3 separate regions of the Homo sapiens genome follow, and all the other regions are linked to region 1. The links are contacts of gene promoters, found by promoter capture Hi-C in blood cells and fetal thymus (Javierre and others, 2016). All regions are on one chromosome and are shown on one strand. The core of a region is centred on a gene start or on the middle of the fragment in contact, and the rest is flanking DNA. Distances in the headings are between cores, read along the strand shown.

Region 1 (4,524 bases), core at 727-3,226:
ATGGTTCTCAGCAGGGCACTGTGAGTCATGCCTGTAATCCCTGCACTTTGGGAGGCTGAGGTGGGAGGATCACTTGAGCCCAAGACTTCAAGACCAGCCTGGGCAACAGGGCAAGACCCTATCTGTACAAAAAATACAAAAATTAGCCAAGTGTGGTAGCATGCACCTGTGGTCCCAGCTACTTGGGAGGCTGAGGCAGGAGGATCACCTAAGCCCAGGAGGTCGAGGCTGCAGTGAGCTATGATCATGCCACCACACTCCAGCAGTCTGGGTGCCTGAGATCCTGTCTCAAAAAAAAAAAAAAAAAAAGAAAAAGAAAAAAGACAGGGTTCTTGGTATCTAACTTCAGTAGACAGTAGTAGTATGGTTATCTGAGAGAAAATGTGGAGGACAGTTCTGGGGGATATTTGAGGCATGTTTGAGCCCTGCAGCGCCGTCAGGCTGCTCAAAGAGGAGGGAAGGGTGAAGAAAGAGATTTTTCAGATGGCAGTTGAAACCTTGGGAGTGGGAAGGGTTCCACAGGGTGAGGAACCGGGTAGGCTACCAGCTGGAGCCGCCCCCCAGCAGGCTGACAGCTCCAAGCGTTGTCTGGGGGAGGTTGCCCTCGCCAGGTGGCCCGGGCGGATTCTAGACAGTAGGGGGCACACTCGGACTGGGGCAGGTGGAGCAAGAGGCGTTTGGGGCTCCCACAGCCCTGGGGTGGTGGTGGGGTTTTATTTTTGGTTTTTATTTTGGTAGAGATGGTTCTCGCCATGCTGCCCAGGCTGGTCTCAAACTCCTGTCCCCAAGTGGCCCTCCGACCTTAGCCTCCCAAACCGCTGGGATTCCAGACGTGGACACCGCGCGGCAGCCCTGGGGTGCTAAGCCAGCCCCCCGGAGCGAGCCAGGGTGACCAAGGCGATTCTGGGGCAGTCAGAGGGTCTTCCCGGGTCGGGTTAGTGCCTCGAATCCGGGGGACGAAGACGGGGAGCTGAGCTTTCGGAGCCCGGGCTTATCAGACGGGGACCCGGAGCCCCCTCGAACCCTCCCTAGCTTGTACCAGCTGGCGGACGTGGCCCGTAGCATCGCCCTGCAGAGGGGACCTTCCCTGAAAGGGACGGGGAACGGGGTGAAGGTGGCCAGCGCGGGCAGGGAGCACCCAGATGACGATCAAGGGTGGAGGGTCCCCGGAGGACCGAGCAGTGCGTGAACACGGGCGGAGAAAGGTCAGTCTGATGGGGGGAGCTCAGGAGACCCCATCCTAGGACGGGACAGACCAGCCCCAAATCCCCTTGCAGATTTCCAAGGGCCAACTTCCAGGGACCGGGCAGACGCCACCGGGGAGAGGGGAAGGGGTCGGTGCATCAGCGGGGGGCGCCACGGCTGGACCGGGTCCGGGATCCCAGGCCCCGAATACGCCGGGACGGGAACCACCGGGGCGGGGGAGCGAGGAACCAGGACCCAAAGCCCGAGGCGGCGGGGACGGCGGCGCTGCGTGGGGAGGAGGCGGGGTGGGGATTCGAGAGTGGAACCACCGTGCGGAGCCGGCGCATCTGGGCGTGGTGACCCGCGCGCAGGGGGCAGCTGGGGACGGCGGGGCGGCCGCGGGAGAGCCCGGCTGGGGGCGCTGGTGGCCCGGCGGCTTCTGGGGGGAGTCCGCTGGGGGCCGGGACGCGGAGCCGGAGCCCCAGCCTCGCAGGGTCAGGCCGCTGGAGAGGCCGCGGGGCGATGTCGCCGGGGATTCCCGGCCGCGCTGTGACTCGGGTTGAAGGCTGCAAAGCCGAGGCCCGGCCCGCAGCGCCCAGGCCCCTCCCGTCCCCCATCTCTCTTGTTTGTCTCCGAGTCCGGCCGGAACCGGCTTCTGCTCGCGGCGGGGCGGGCGGGGGGCTGGCTGCTGATTGGTCGACGCCTGTTTCCAGCCCCGCTCAGCCAATCAGCGGGCGGCAGTGTTTTCTTCTTGGGGTCGGAATAAAAGGGCTGGAATAAAAGAGGGCAGAAAAGGCGCCGGGCGGGCCCGACACACGCCGGAGGAGCCGGGTGAGCTGCAGCAGGGAGGGGATCGCGGCCGGGGCGAGGGCGCGGGGGCAGAAGCGGCCGCCGAAGGGGCGTAGGGAGAAAACGTGGGAACGAGGAGAGAGATGGAGCGATGAGGGGCCGCCAGGGAAGAGATGACGAACAGATGCGGGCTGGGGAATGGAGGCGCGGGGGTCCGAGGCCATGGAAACGGGCGAGTTGCCGGGGGAACGCCCGAGATGGGGGTCGCGCGGCTGGCTCGCGCCACCGGTTTGAACCGGCTCCTCGTCTCCCACGCTGGGTTCGCGTGGCCGCAGCGCCTAGCGACCTAGACGGCGGCCAATGGCGCGGCAGTTCCTGCGCCGTCCGGCCAATGAGCGCGCCGGGGCGGGCCGTTCCGTAGGTCTGGGCGCTGATCTTGTGGTTGAAGAAACCAGCTCTGGGGAAGGGTCTCGGGCGCGGGCGGGAGGGCACCTGTCAGGGTCCCTGGGAGAGGCAGCCCTCGGATCTGCCCCTGCCCACCTCACGCTGCGTTCCATGCTGGCCCCAGGCGATGTCAGTCCTGCTGCAGGCCAGGACTAGTTCCACGGCCCTGAGCATGCGTTAGCCCCTTCTTGCCTCCATGCCTCAGTTTACCTCGGAGTGAGCTGCGGGAGACGTCTCCCTGCCTGGCCGGGGCGGCTCTGTCGTAGCGGAGGGCAGCGGTACGAGCCGGCCGCGGGCTCGGGGTGTCCCAGGTCCGGGCAGGGCTGGGGTTCGCTTCCTCTGCTGCGCGCACCGGCCGCCGCGGCCGGGGAGGGGTGGCAATCCCGAGCCCTGCGGCAGCGGTCGGGGCTGCTGGGGGCGGCCGCAGGGGCTGGGCAAGGGCCGGCCGCTGACGCCGAGTTCTGTGCGCAGGTGGTGCAGAGCCGGAGCCGGAGCCGGAGCCGCGCCGCGCCGCACCATGGCGCCCACCCTGGCCACTGCCCATCGGCGCCGCTGGTGGATGGCCTGCACGGCCGTGCTGGAGAACCTCCTCTTCTCGGCAGTCCTCCTGGGCTGGGGCTCGCTGCTCATCATGCTCAAGTCAGAGGGCTTTTACTCCTACCTGTGTACCGAGCCAGGTGAGACAAGCGCCTGGGGTTGCGGGGGGCTCCTGGAGCTGGGGCTTTGGGAGGGGGCGGGATGGGGGCGAAGACCTAGCGAGCCACAGCACCGCATTGCCCAGTGCCTCTAGGGTATCAGAAGGCCCATCTGATCCTCACCCAGCCCTGCCGGGTACTTGTCATTGCCCCTGTTTTGTGGACGAAGACATCGAGGCTCAGAGCGATCTGTCTTGCGCAAGGCCGCAGAGCCTGGGCCTGCCATCCACCCAGAACCCCACCTGCTGTCCAGGGTGTTCCTTCCACCCGCTACGAACAGTGCTGGACTGCTCTCCTCTCCTCCCAGCCCTGGAACATAGCTTGGCTGGTAGTAAACATGTTGCTGTCTGCTTGTGAGAAAGAGGAACTCCAGATTAAGGGGCTGGGGTGCAGCAGGAGAGGAAGTGGCCTTGCCTCCACCCCAGGGAGGGCTCATCTAGAATCTAGACGTTCCTCAGGCCATTGTGGAGTCTCCTAAGTGCTTGCTGGACACAATTTCTTGTCTATTTTTGCTGCCTTATGATTCTCCAAAGGACATTTCCCCCACGGGCTCTGAGGACATCTCCGTGGCTTTCCAACCCCATGGGGATGAAGGGGAAGAGAAGAAAGGAACGTTTATGGAAATGATGCTAGGGTTGTTCTCTCCTCTTTGCCTTGTCACTGGAATTGCTGAAGGCAGGCTGAGGATGCTTCTCTACATGACATCTGCACCACCCAACACACACTTACCTTCACACCTTCATACCCTGTTGGAGGGTCCTGATGACTACAGGGCAGTAAATTCAGCCCCACAGGAGGGCCACAGCAGCCCCCAGCCTCTAGCCTCCTACCCTCCTTCTTAGGCAACCTTGACAGGAAATTTTCCCTCTGCCTTCTCCTTGATCCCAACGGTAGCTGCATAATAGCTGAGCTCACATAATCCCTGTCGCCAGTGCTAGAGTGCCCTTAGATGGAGGTAGCCCAGGTTTGACTTCCTGAATCCCCAGCAGCAGGCCTTTTCTTTCTAGAGCTCTTTGCAGGAAGAGAAAGCTTTGGACCAGCTCATGCTGGGTGTAATCCTTTGTGGAAGCCTCCCTGTTTCCCTTCTCTGATCTGCCCCGGAGATTCCTGTGTGTCCCAGTCTCTAGGGAGGGAGGCTTAGCTGGAGAGGTTCAGGGCAGGAGAAAGCAGGAGAATGCAGAGGCCGCGGGGAGAGGACAGAAAGTATATCATTTATAACTAACCTTTAGCCTTTAGCCACTCAAAAATATTTCCTAATAGCCTAAGGGTTCTTGGCAGGTCTTTCCCCACATCAGCAAGAAATCTTGGGAGTTGGGAAGAGTCAGACCTTGTTCCCTGAACAAGCTTTCTGCTTTGGCCAAGAGTTGTTAGGAGATTAATGCCTGTCCCCGAAAGGCACAGGTTGGAGTGT
Region 2 (4,524 bases), core at 1,376-3,875, 380 kb after region 1:
GAAATGCAAATATCCCCAATTAGTGATGACACAGATTCTACAAAATCAATTAATAGACATATCCTTGGCAGCCCAGCTGTGAAAGCCTGTCTCAGGTCACTGCTGGAGAGGCTGCTGATACAAAAAATTGACATTTGATACTTTTGCTCTAAAGATTTGGGATTGAGTAAGTCAATGCGTTCATCAATGAAATAGCAGCCTTTGAAAAACGCACCGTCGTGGCTGGGTGCGGTGGCTCACGCCTGTAATCCCAGCACTTTGGGAGGCCAAAGTGGGCAGATCACGAGGTCAGGAGATCGAGACCGTCCTGGCTAACATGGTGAAATCCCGTCTCTACTAAAAATACAAAAAATTAGCTGGGCGTGGTGGCGGGCGCCTTTAGTCCCAGCTACTCGGGAGGCTGAGGCAGGAGAATGGCATGACTCAGGAGGCGGAGATTGCAGTGAGCCGAGATCGTGCCACTGCACTCTGGCCTGGGCGACAGAGCAAGACTCGTCTCAAAAAAAAAAAAAAAAAAAAAAAAAAAGAAAACCATCATTAAATGGGATTAGCAAAGCTTTATTATTTACGTATTTAATTTTATTTTTGAGATGGAGTTTCGCTCTTCTTGCCCAGGCTGGAGTGCAATGGTGCAATCTCGGCTCACTGCAACCTCTGCCTCTTGGGCTCAAGCAATTCTCTTGCCTCAGACTCCCAAGTAGCTGGGATTACAGGCGACCGCCAACACGCCTGGCTAATTTTTTTGTATTATTATTATTTTGAGACGGACTCCCGCTCTGTCGCCCAGGCTGGAGTGCAGTGCCGCGATCTGGGCTCACTGCAAGCTCCGCCTCCCGGGTTCACGTCATTCTCCTGCCTCAGCCTCCCGAGTAGCTGGGATTACAGGCACCTGCCACCACGCCTGGCTATTTTTTTTTTTTTTTGTATTTTTAGTAGAGACGGGGTTTTGCCACGTTGGCCAGGCTGGTCTCGAACTCCTGACCTTGTGATCCGCCCGTCTCGGCCTCCCAAAGTGCTGGGATTACAGGCGTGAGCCACCGCGCCTGGCGGACATTGGGATTTAAGATTTCAAGGCAGGATTAGGCTGAGGTCCTCGGGTGGCCGTGTGACCTCTGCACACCCAGAAGCGCCTTCCTCCCTGCGCCTGCGCCAGGTCCAGCTTTGGGCTCCTGGGGTCTCAGCCAGTGCGCGGTCTTCCTGCCTCAGCTCCACGGGGAGCTCTTGGACGCTCCGCAGCGCTTTCGCAGAGTCCCCAGTTCTCCCGTCCCGCCGGGACTCCAGGAAGGGGTGAGTGTTTGAAGGCTCCTCCCACGGAGCGTGAGCATTTCCTGTACAGCAGCTGGGCAGCCTCTCAGCGGACTGGTGTGAGCTGGGGCTGCGGGGAAGGTTCCAGAACAGCGGGCTATGTTTAACCTGGCACAGGTGCCCAATTCCCAGCTCAGGGAAGGGGCGTGGTAGGTGGGAAACAATCTTGCTTTCATTGTTTTTTATCATTGCATTATTTTTTACATTAAAAAAATTTTTTTTGAGACAGAGTCTTGCTCTGTCGCCAGGCTAGAGTGCAATGGCACGATCTCGGCTCACTGCAACCTCCGCCTCCCGGGTTCAAGCGATTCTCGGCCGGGCGCGCTGGCTCAAGCCTGTAATCCCAGCACTTTGGGAGGCCGAGGCGGGCGGATCACGAGGTCAGGGGTTCGAGACCAGTCTGACCAACACGCTGAAACCCCGTCTCTACTAAAAATTCAAAAAATTAGCCAGGCTTGGTGGGGGGCGCCTGTAGTCCCAGCTACTCGGGAGGCTGAGGCAGGAGAATCGCTTGAACCTGGGAGGCGGAGGTTGCAGTGAGCCGAGATTGCACCATTGCACTCCAGCCTGGGCGACAGAGTGAGATTCCATCTCAAAAAAAAAAAAAAAAAAAAAAAAATAGCCATTCTCCTGCCTCAGCCTCCCGAGTATCTGGGATTACAGGCGCCCTCCAACATGCCAGCCTAATTTTTGTATTTTTAGTAGAGACGGCATTTCACCATGTTGGCCAGGCTGGTCTCAAACTCCCAACCTCAGGTGATCCTTCTATCTCAGCCTCCCAAAGTGCTGGGATTACAGGCGTGAGCCACTGCACCCAGCCCATCGTTTATTATTTTATTAAACATTTAGGATGCTGGATTCAGTGGGCATCTTCACCTGGTTTCATTACTAGTTTTCCTTTTCACAAATCCTTCCGGCTTGTTATTAAGAAATAACTTTAGGGGCCGGGCGCGGTGGCTCACGCCTGTAATCCCAGCACTTTGGGAGGCCAAAGTGGGCAGATCACGAGGTCAGGAGATTGAGACCATCCTGGCTAACACGGTGAAATCCCGTCTCTACTAAAAATACAAAAAATTAGCCAGGGGTGGTGACGGGCCCCTGTAGTTCCAGCTACTCGGGAGGCTGAGGCAGGAGAATGGCTTGAACCCGGGAGGCGGAGCTTGCAGTGAGCGGAGATTGCACCACTGCACTCCAGCCTGGGCGACAGAGCGAGACTCCATCTCAAAAAAAAGAAAAAAAAGAAATAACTCTCTCCCCCAGGGGCCAAAGAGGGCCGGGGAGAAAATGAAATTGACCAAGTGTCAATGAACGAGGGCAGGGGAGGGATAAATGCTCCATCCTGCTCCTTCAGCAGTGGGCGTGGGTCCAAAACGACTGTTAGACTCATAAATTGCTCACTTATCCTCCCTGTTTGCTCCAAATGGCTGGAAAAGCTATTTCTGCTAATCACAGGCGTAGGCCCGTTGCTGGAAGGGGGCCAGCCTGGGCCCAGCAGGAGTGTGAATTGCACCCGGATTCATTATCTGTATCTAGTCCCACATTTTAGTGGTAGGTTTTTGTTTGATTTCAAAGTGAGATGGTTAGGTCATTATTTGTTAAATTATAGCTTTTAATTAGCAGATCTATTGAAATGAAAAGCCTGGAAGAGACACACACACACACACACGCCGCTAAGTTTTTGTTTGGAATTTATAATTATTACTGTTAGGAAAACATTAGTTGGGGGCGTTAAAGTCATTTTTTTTTTTAAAGAAAATCTTCAAATTATGCGCTGTTGGGGGAAGGGGGGAGGGAGACACCAGTGAGCTAGAGACCTCCCGTAATGCCAACAGTATTATTACCCAGCCCCGGGTCCTTGTCTTTTTAGAAAGAAAGGGAACAGATGGGTTTATAGTAATTCATATTCTTTCTCCTCACGGCGGGAATCAGAGATTAAATCAGTGGGTAACCAAGACTGGCTGCCATGGAGTTCTGCTCCGTTCCTAATTCCCCTGGAAGGTAGGGAGGATGGTTGAGGGGCGGTGGGGTTGGAGCAGGGCAGTGTGGTGGGGAGTGGGTCAGCCTTGGTAGATTTGCCTCTGGGGGTTTAGTTTCTGCCTTTTGGAGGAACAAGGAGAGGCTAATATTCTCTCTCTCTCTTTTTTTTTTTTGAGTCTTGCTCTGTCGCCCAGGCTGGAGTGCAACAGCGAGATCTCAGCTCACTGCAACCTCCGCCTCCCGGGTTCAAGTGATTCTCGTGCCTCAGCCTCCCGAGTAGCTGGGACTACAGCGTGCACCCACTCCCGGCTAATTTTTGTATTTCTAGTAGAGATGGGGTTTCAACATGTTGGCCAGGCTGGTCTCGAACTCTTGACCTCGTGATCCACCTGTCTCGGCCTCCCAAAGTGCTGGGATTACAGGCGTGAGCCATGGTGCCTGGCCGGCAGTGATCTTGATCCCCACCCTCTTCCCCAGGGTTGGGGTGCGGGGGTGAGTTCCAATTCAGATGTCTTCCATCTTCTCTTATTTTGAAGCCCCTTCCTTTGAAAACAGGACACTTTGCAAAGGTCACTTGTAACCAGAGGCTTTCTGGTTGTGTGTTAAGGGTTTTTCTGAGTGAGCTTTCCCAGAAGGGGAGATGAGAAAATAGCCTATTAATAAATAGCACGTTGTTCTAAAAGAGTTAGGGGCTTCTGGCCAGGCGTGGTGACTCACACCTGTAATCCCAGCACTTTGGGAGGCCGAGACAGCTGGATCACGAGGTCAGGAGATCGAGACCATCCTGGCTAACACAGTGAAACTCTGTGTCTACTAAATATACAAAAAATTAGCCCGGCGTGGTGGCGGACGCCTGTAGTCCCAGCTACTCGGGAGGCGGAGGCAGGAGAATGGGGTGAACCTGGAAGGCGGAGCTTGCAGTGAGCCGAGATGGCGCCACTGCACCCAGCCTGGGAGACAGAGCGAGACCCTGTCTTAAAAAAAAAAAAAAAAAAAGAGTTAGAGGCTTCTGTTGTTATTGGGGAATTGTTTGTTTGTTTTGATTTTGCAAAACCTGAGTGTGGATCTGATGCTCCGCCTCCCCATCTTGCCTTCATCCTTATGCTTAACAATCCCATTTACTCCACTCTAGGAGTAATCAAAGATGTACAACCCTCTGCCTGTGGGGGAGAACAGCACAGATAAGAAGCGCAGAATCGGGAATTGTTTTCTGATGAGCAAATGTCAAATTTTATCGATGAG
Region 3 (4,524 bases), core at 852-3,351, 360 kb after region 1:
CCCTGCAGGCGGCGGGGGGCTGGCGCCTGTGTCCCCGGTGTCCCCGCGCGCGGCCGGGCCGTGGCACTCCAGGTGTCCGCAGGGCCCGCGGGGCGCGGGGCTGGCGCGCAGGACCAGGGAGAGCGCGGCGATGCGGTGGATGGCCCTGCGCAGCGTGGCGATCTTGGAGAGCCTCTTGCCGCCCAGGTCGTGCCGCAGCGCCCGGCGCAGCGCGTTGAAGGCCTCGTTGTAGTCTAGGATGCGCTTGCGCTCCCGCACGTTGGCGGCCATGCGCCGCGCCTTGGACCGCACCGGCCGCGCGCGCCTCCTGCCCGCCGGCTCCTCCGCCTCGCCCCGGCTGCAGGAAGCGCCGTTCGCCCCCAGCACCCCCGAATCGCCCCCGGGCTCGGGGCAGGGGCCCCCCAAGTCCTCCGCAGAGTCCTCGGCCCCCTTCCGCGCCGTGAGGCCTAGTCCTGGCGCGCCCCGCAGCATGGCCTTCCCGGGCACTCGCCCTCTGCCCCAGCCCCGGCCCTCTGCCCTCTGCCCTCTGCCCACTGCCTTGGCCCGGCTCGCGACGCGGACGGTCCCCGGCTCCTGGGGCTGGACACTCCCGAGACAGGCCCCTTCCAGCTGGGCTTTATGGCACCACGCGGCGCCCCGCCCTCCCGTCCATCCATCTCCCTCCTCCTGCTTTATTATCGGCCTCCAGGTAGGTCGGCGGGGGAGGAACCGAGGGGAAGAAGGAAAGCAAGGAGGGAAGCTTGCAGGTTCTTGTAAGCGGGGACCAGACGGGCAGCCCGGCCACGCTGCCCCGGGGACCTTGCCCTGCCTAGCTCTGGGGCCGCTGTGGGGTGTCTGGGTTCCACATTCTTCCTCCCCATTCCCAGATAAGGTGCTAAGTTTGGCTTCTAGCAGGAGAGCTGATAGGAATAAAAAGAGGCAGAGGGCCGGGCACTGGGGCTCACGCCTGTCATCCCAGCAGTTTGGGAGGCCGAGGCGGGCGGATCACTTGAGTTCAGGAGTTCGAGACCAGCCTGGCCAACAGAGTATATAAAACCCCGTCTACTAAAAACACAAAAATTAGCCGGGCGTGGTGGCAGGCGCCTGTAATCCCAGTTACTCGGGAGGCTGAGGCAGGAGAATGGCTTGAGCCCAGGAGCTGGAGGTTGCAGTGAGCCGAGATCGCACCACTGCACTCTAGCCTGGGAGACAGAACGAGACTCCGTCTCAGAAAAACAACAACAAAAACAACAACAAAACCTTGAAAGTTCTTGTCAAGTCCCGTGGGCAACCACAGAGATGTCACTGAGGAAAAGCATGAGTGTCCCGGCAGGACTCATATGGGAGGCGCAGGGCCCTGCAGGTAAAGCTGACCCAGAGCTTCCGGCTTTTTCAGCTATGGAGGGCGGCTGGCTGCAATTGGGGTTCGGGTTTTGGTTGGGCCTGACTCTCCCTCCACTGCCCTTTGACTCCCCTTCTGCAGGCAGAGCTGGGATGAGTCAGCAGCAGAGGGTGACGGGGAAGATCCCTTTGCAGCCCTGGGTCCACATCAGGGGCATCTTTGGGGTCCAGAGCCCTCGGGCAGCCCCATCTTGTGACACAGCCCTGCCAGGTTATGAACTCAATGAGCAGCCTCTGTCCTCTTCCCCCAGGGATTTGCATTTGAAAGAGGGTCTCAGAAAAAAGATGATGTTTATTCCCAAAGAAAGACCCCCAGTAGAATTTCCGGCATCCACAGCTGAGTTATTTGGAGCGCCTGAAGGCCACTCATTCCCAGTCACAATCCAAATGCCTCTAAGATGCCAAGGCCTATGGCATTGGAATGGGTGTGTGGTTCACATCCATCTCGCCAAAAGAGCATTGCCAATAACCCCATTATTTCAAACTGTGAATTTCTCCATAAAAGAAAATAATAAGGCATTAGGAAGCAGAGTGTATGTATTTACTTCTGTGATTGTCTGCCTTGCCCACTAGGATGAAAGCATCCTAAGGACATCTGTATTTCCCAGGTTCTATGTCCCCCAAATCTGCAATATATGTCGAATTATAAAACAGCTAGAGGCCGGGCGCAGTGGCTCACGCCTGTAATCCCAGTACTTTGGGAGGCCGAGGTGGGCGGATCACTTGAGGTCAGGAGTTCAAGACCAGCCTGGCCAACACGGTGAAACCCCGTCTCTACTAAAATACAACAATTAGCTGGACGTGGTGGCGGGGAGCCTGTAGTCCCAGCTACTCGGGAGGCTGAGGCAGAGAATCGCTTGAACCAGGGAGGCGGAGGTTGCAGTGAGCCGAGATCCCGCCACTGCGCTCCAGCCTGGCGGACAGAGCGAGACTCCGTCTCAAAAACAACAAAAAATAAACCAGAAAAAAAAAAAAGGTCAGTAAAAGCAAAGAAAATGCCCACGCAGCGCGCGTTTCCCGGTGGCGTTTCCCGGCCGCTCCCGCCCTTCCCCGCGCACGTCAGGAAACGGCCCCACGCGAAGAACCCCGAGGACCCGGGAGAGGCGCCCCCTCCTGGAACCCGGGACTCCCGGGCGCTGCGGGGCGCGGCCGACTTCAAAGCGAGCGGCGGGCCCGGCATTTCCGCGGCACCTGCCCGTGCCCGGGAGCGCGAGTTCTCGGCCCGGGCGGGGGCGGGCGGGGGCGGGCGGGGCGCCGTGATTTAGGGTCTGGCGGTTCCGCCGGCGGCCGCGTAGGTGCCTATTAGCGCCGGGCGGGGCCTGGGCTTCAAAAGTTCCGGCTCTTCCTCCGGAAGTTCCGGCGCCGCTCCCCGAGGGAGGACGGAACGCCCGCCCGGGAGAGAAAGTCCGGGAGCCGCTCACGGGGGCCTCGACCCCACCCCCTCCGGAGAGCGGGTCCCGGGAAGCCCTGAGCCTCCTTCTCTCCCAGGCGAGACCCTGGCGTTTCAACCCACACGCCCGGTGTGGAAGACGTAGGGGCGCAATTGCAGCCTCTGCCCCTTCATGCGCTCATTCAACAAAAACTTTTTTTTTTTTGAGACCGAGTCTCGCTCTGTCGCCCAGGCTGGACCGCAGTGTCGCAATCTTGGCTCACTGCAAGCTCCACCTCTCGGGTTCAAGCGATTCTCCTGCCTCAGCCTCCCGAGTACGTGGGATTACAGGCACCCACCATCGTGCCCAGCTATTTTTTGTATTTTTACCAGAGACGGGGTTTCACCATGTTGGCCAGGATGGTCTCGAACTCCCGGCCTTAAGTGATCCGCCCGCCTCGGCCACCCAAAGTGCTGGGATTACAGACGTGAGCCACCGCTCCCGGCCCTGAACTGGATTTCAAAGGATGAATAGCAGTTTGCCAAGCAGACAGGAGGTAGAGGGAACAGCAGGTGCCAGGCCCTGGAAGTGTAAGCGGTCACAGGATGATGCGAAAAATACAGGAAAGTGACTTTGCCAAACCACCAAATGTGAGGCCAGGGAGTGACGGGAGATAAGGCTGGAGATCACCAGGCGTCGTCCCAAAAGCTTGCTTTTCGCCCTGTAGGCAGCTGGGTACTGCAAAAGGTTATTAAGCAGAGGAATGTCAGCCGTATTTGAATTACAGCTAGAGCTCTTTGAGCAGTGTGGAGAATGGATGTTAAGACAAATTCCACTTAGGAAGCAAGGATCCTGGAGGAAGGGGGGGCCTGAGCTATGCAGGCAGTGGTGAGAGAAGGGCACGGAGTCAACACCTGTTTGGAAAATAGAATTGACATGTGGGGGTGCCAATGGGATAAAGCAGATGACAAAAAGGGGTGTCGTCTCCATATTCTCCTTTAAGAGCAGAAGCCTTAGTTCAGAGACTCTCTCTACAAAGGTCCAGCCATGGACATGGGGACAAGAAAGCCAGTGGCATATGGTCACCTCAGACCCAGGGCACCCACGACTTCGGTTATTTTTTTTTTTTTTTTGAGGTGGAGTCTCGTTCTGTCTCCCAGGCTGGAGTGCAGTGGCGAAATCTCGGCTCACTGCAACCTCCACCTCCCGGGTTTAAGCGATTCTCCTGCCTCAGCCTCCTGAGTAGCTGGGACTACAGGCGTGTGCCGTGGTGGATGTTTTTGTTATCACTGTTTGCTATGTGGCATTTGAACAGCCTTCCTATCTGGGGAGAAGGGAGCCTCCATGGTGGGGCTCTGGGTGGCAGAGATTTCTGGTAACTGGGACAGATGCGAGTCCAGGCACTTGGCTGCCTGACTTGAATCTGGAGTGGTGTCCCAAAGAAACAAACAGGTAACAGTGGAGAAATCACGGTGCCAGTGCGGGGCCTGTGGCCCTCCACGTCCTACACTGGCATCTAGAGGAGGTTCCTGGCTTGGCCGTGGGTCTAGCTGCCCAGTTTCCTATAATTCTTACGAGTTTCCCAACCTTAATTTCCCAGACTCTTTTCTTTTTTCTTTTTGAGACGGAGTCTCACTCTGTTGTGCAGGCCGCAGTGCAGTGGCGCGATCTCGGCCCACTGCAACGTCCGTGTCCCTGGGCAAGCAATTCTCCTGCCTCAGCCTCCTGAGTAGCTGGGATTACAGGCGCCCGCCACTACGCCCGGCTAATTTTT

Evidence for each region. Contacts are between HindIII fragments. The CHiCAGO score rates a contact against its expected background, and 5 or more counts as called.
Region 2: a contact is called between a fragment that was not itself captured here and the fragment with the promoter of SLC43A2 in region 1, in 2 of 17 cell types (endothelial precursors and erythroblasts). The highest score is 7.8, in endothelial precursors.
Region 3: a fragment that was not itself captured here is called in contact with the fragment with the promoter of SLC43A2 in region 1 in 1 of 17 cell types (endothelial precursors); the score reaches 8.0 in endothelial precursors.

The regions. Positions count from the first base shown.
Region 1 is chr17:1,626,286-1,630,809 of GRCh38, reverse strand. It overlaps SLC43A2 (solute carrier family 43 member 2), which reads left to right and starts at 1,976. Exons shown (of 14, transcript NM_152346.3): 1 at 1,976-2,016; 2 at 2,890-3,095. The coding sequence starts at 2,936. RefSeq lists enhancers at 2,728-3,265, 3,266-3,803. The HindIII fragment of the contact is 5,783 bases long and covers 1-4,144 here.
Region 2 is chr17:1,250,677-1,255,200 of GRCh38, reverse strand. No RefSeq gene overlaps it. Among named protein-coding and RNA genes, the nearest start is that of BHLHA9, 18 kb to the left of the region's middle. The HindIII fragment of the contact is 4,133 bases long and covers 559-4,524 here.
Region 3 is chr17:1,266,511-1,271,034 of GRCh38, reverse strand. It overlaps BHLHA9 (basic helix-loop-helix family member a9), which reads right to left and starts at 591. Exons shown (of 1, transcript NM_001164405.2): 1 at 1-591. The coding sequence starts at 471. RefSeq lists enhancers at 1-189, 1,794-2,596, 2,597-3,400 and a silencer at 2,506-2,735. The HindIII fragment of the contact is 2,719 bases long and covers 742-3,460 here.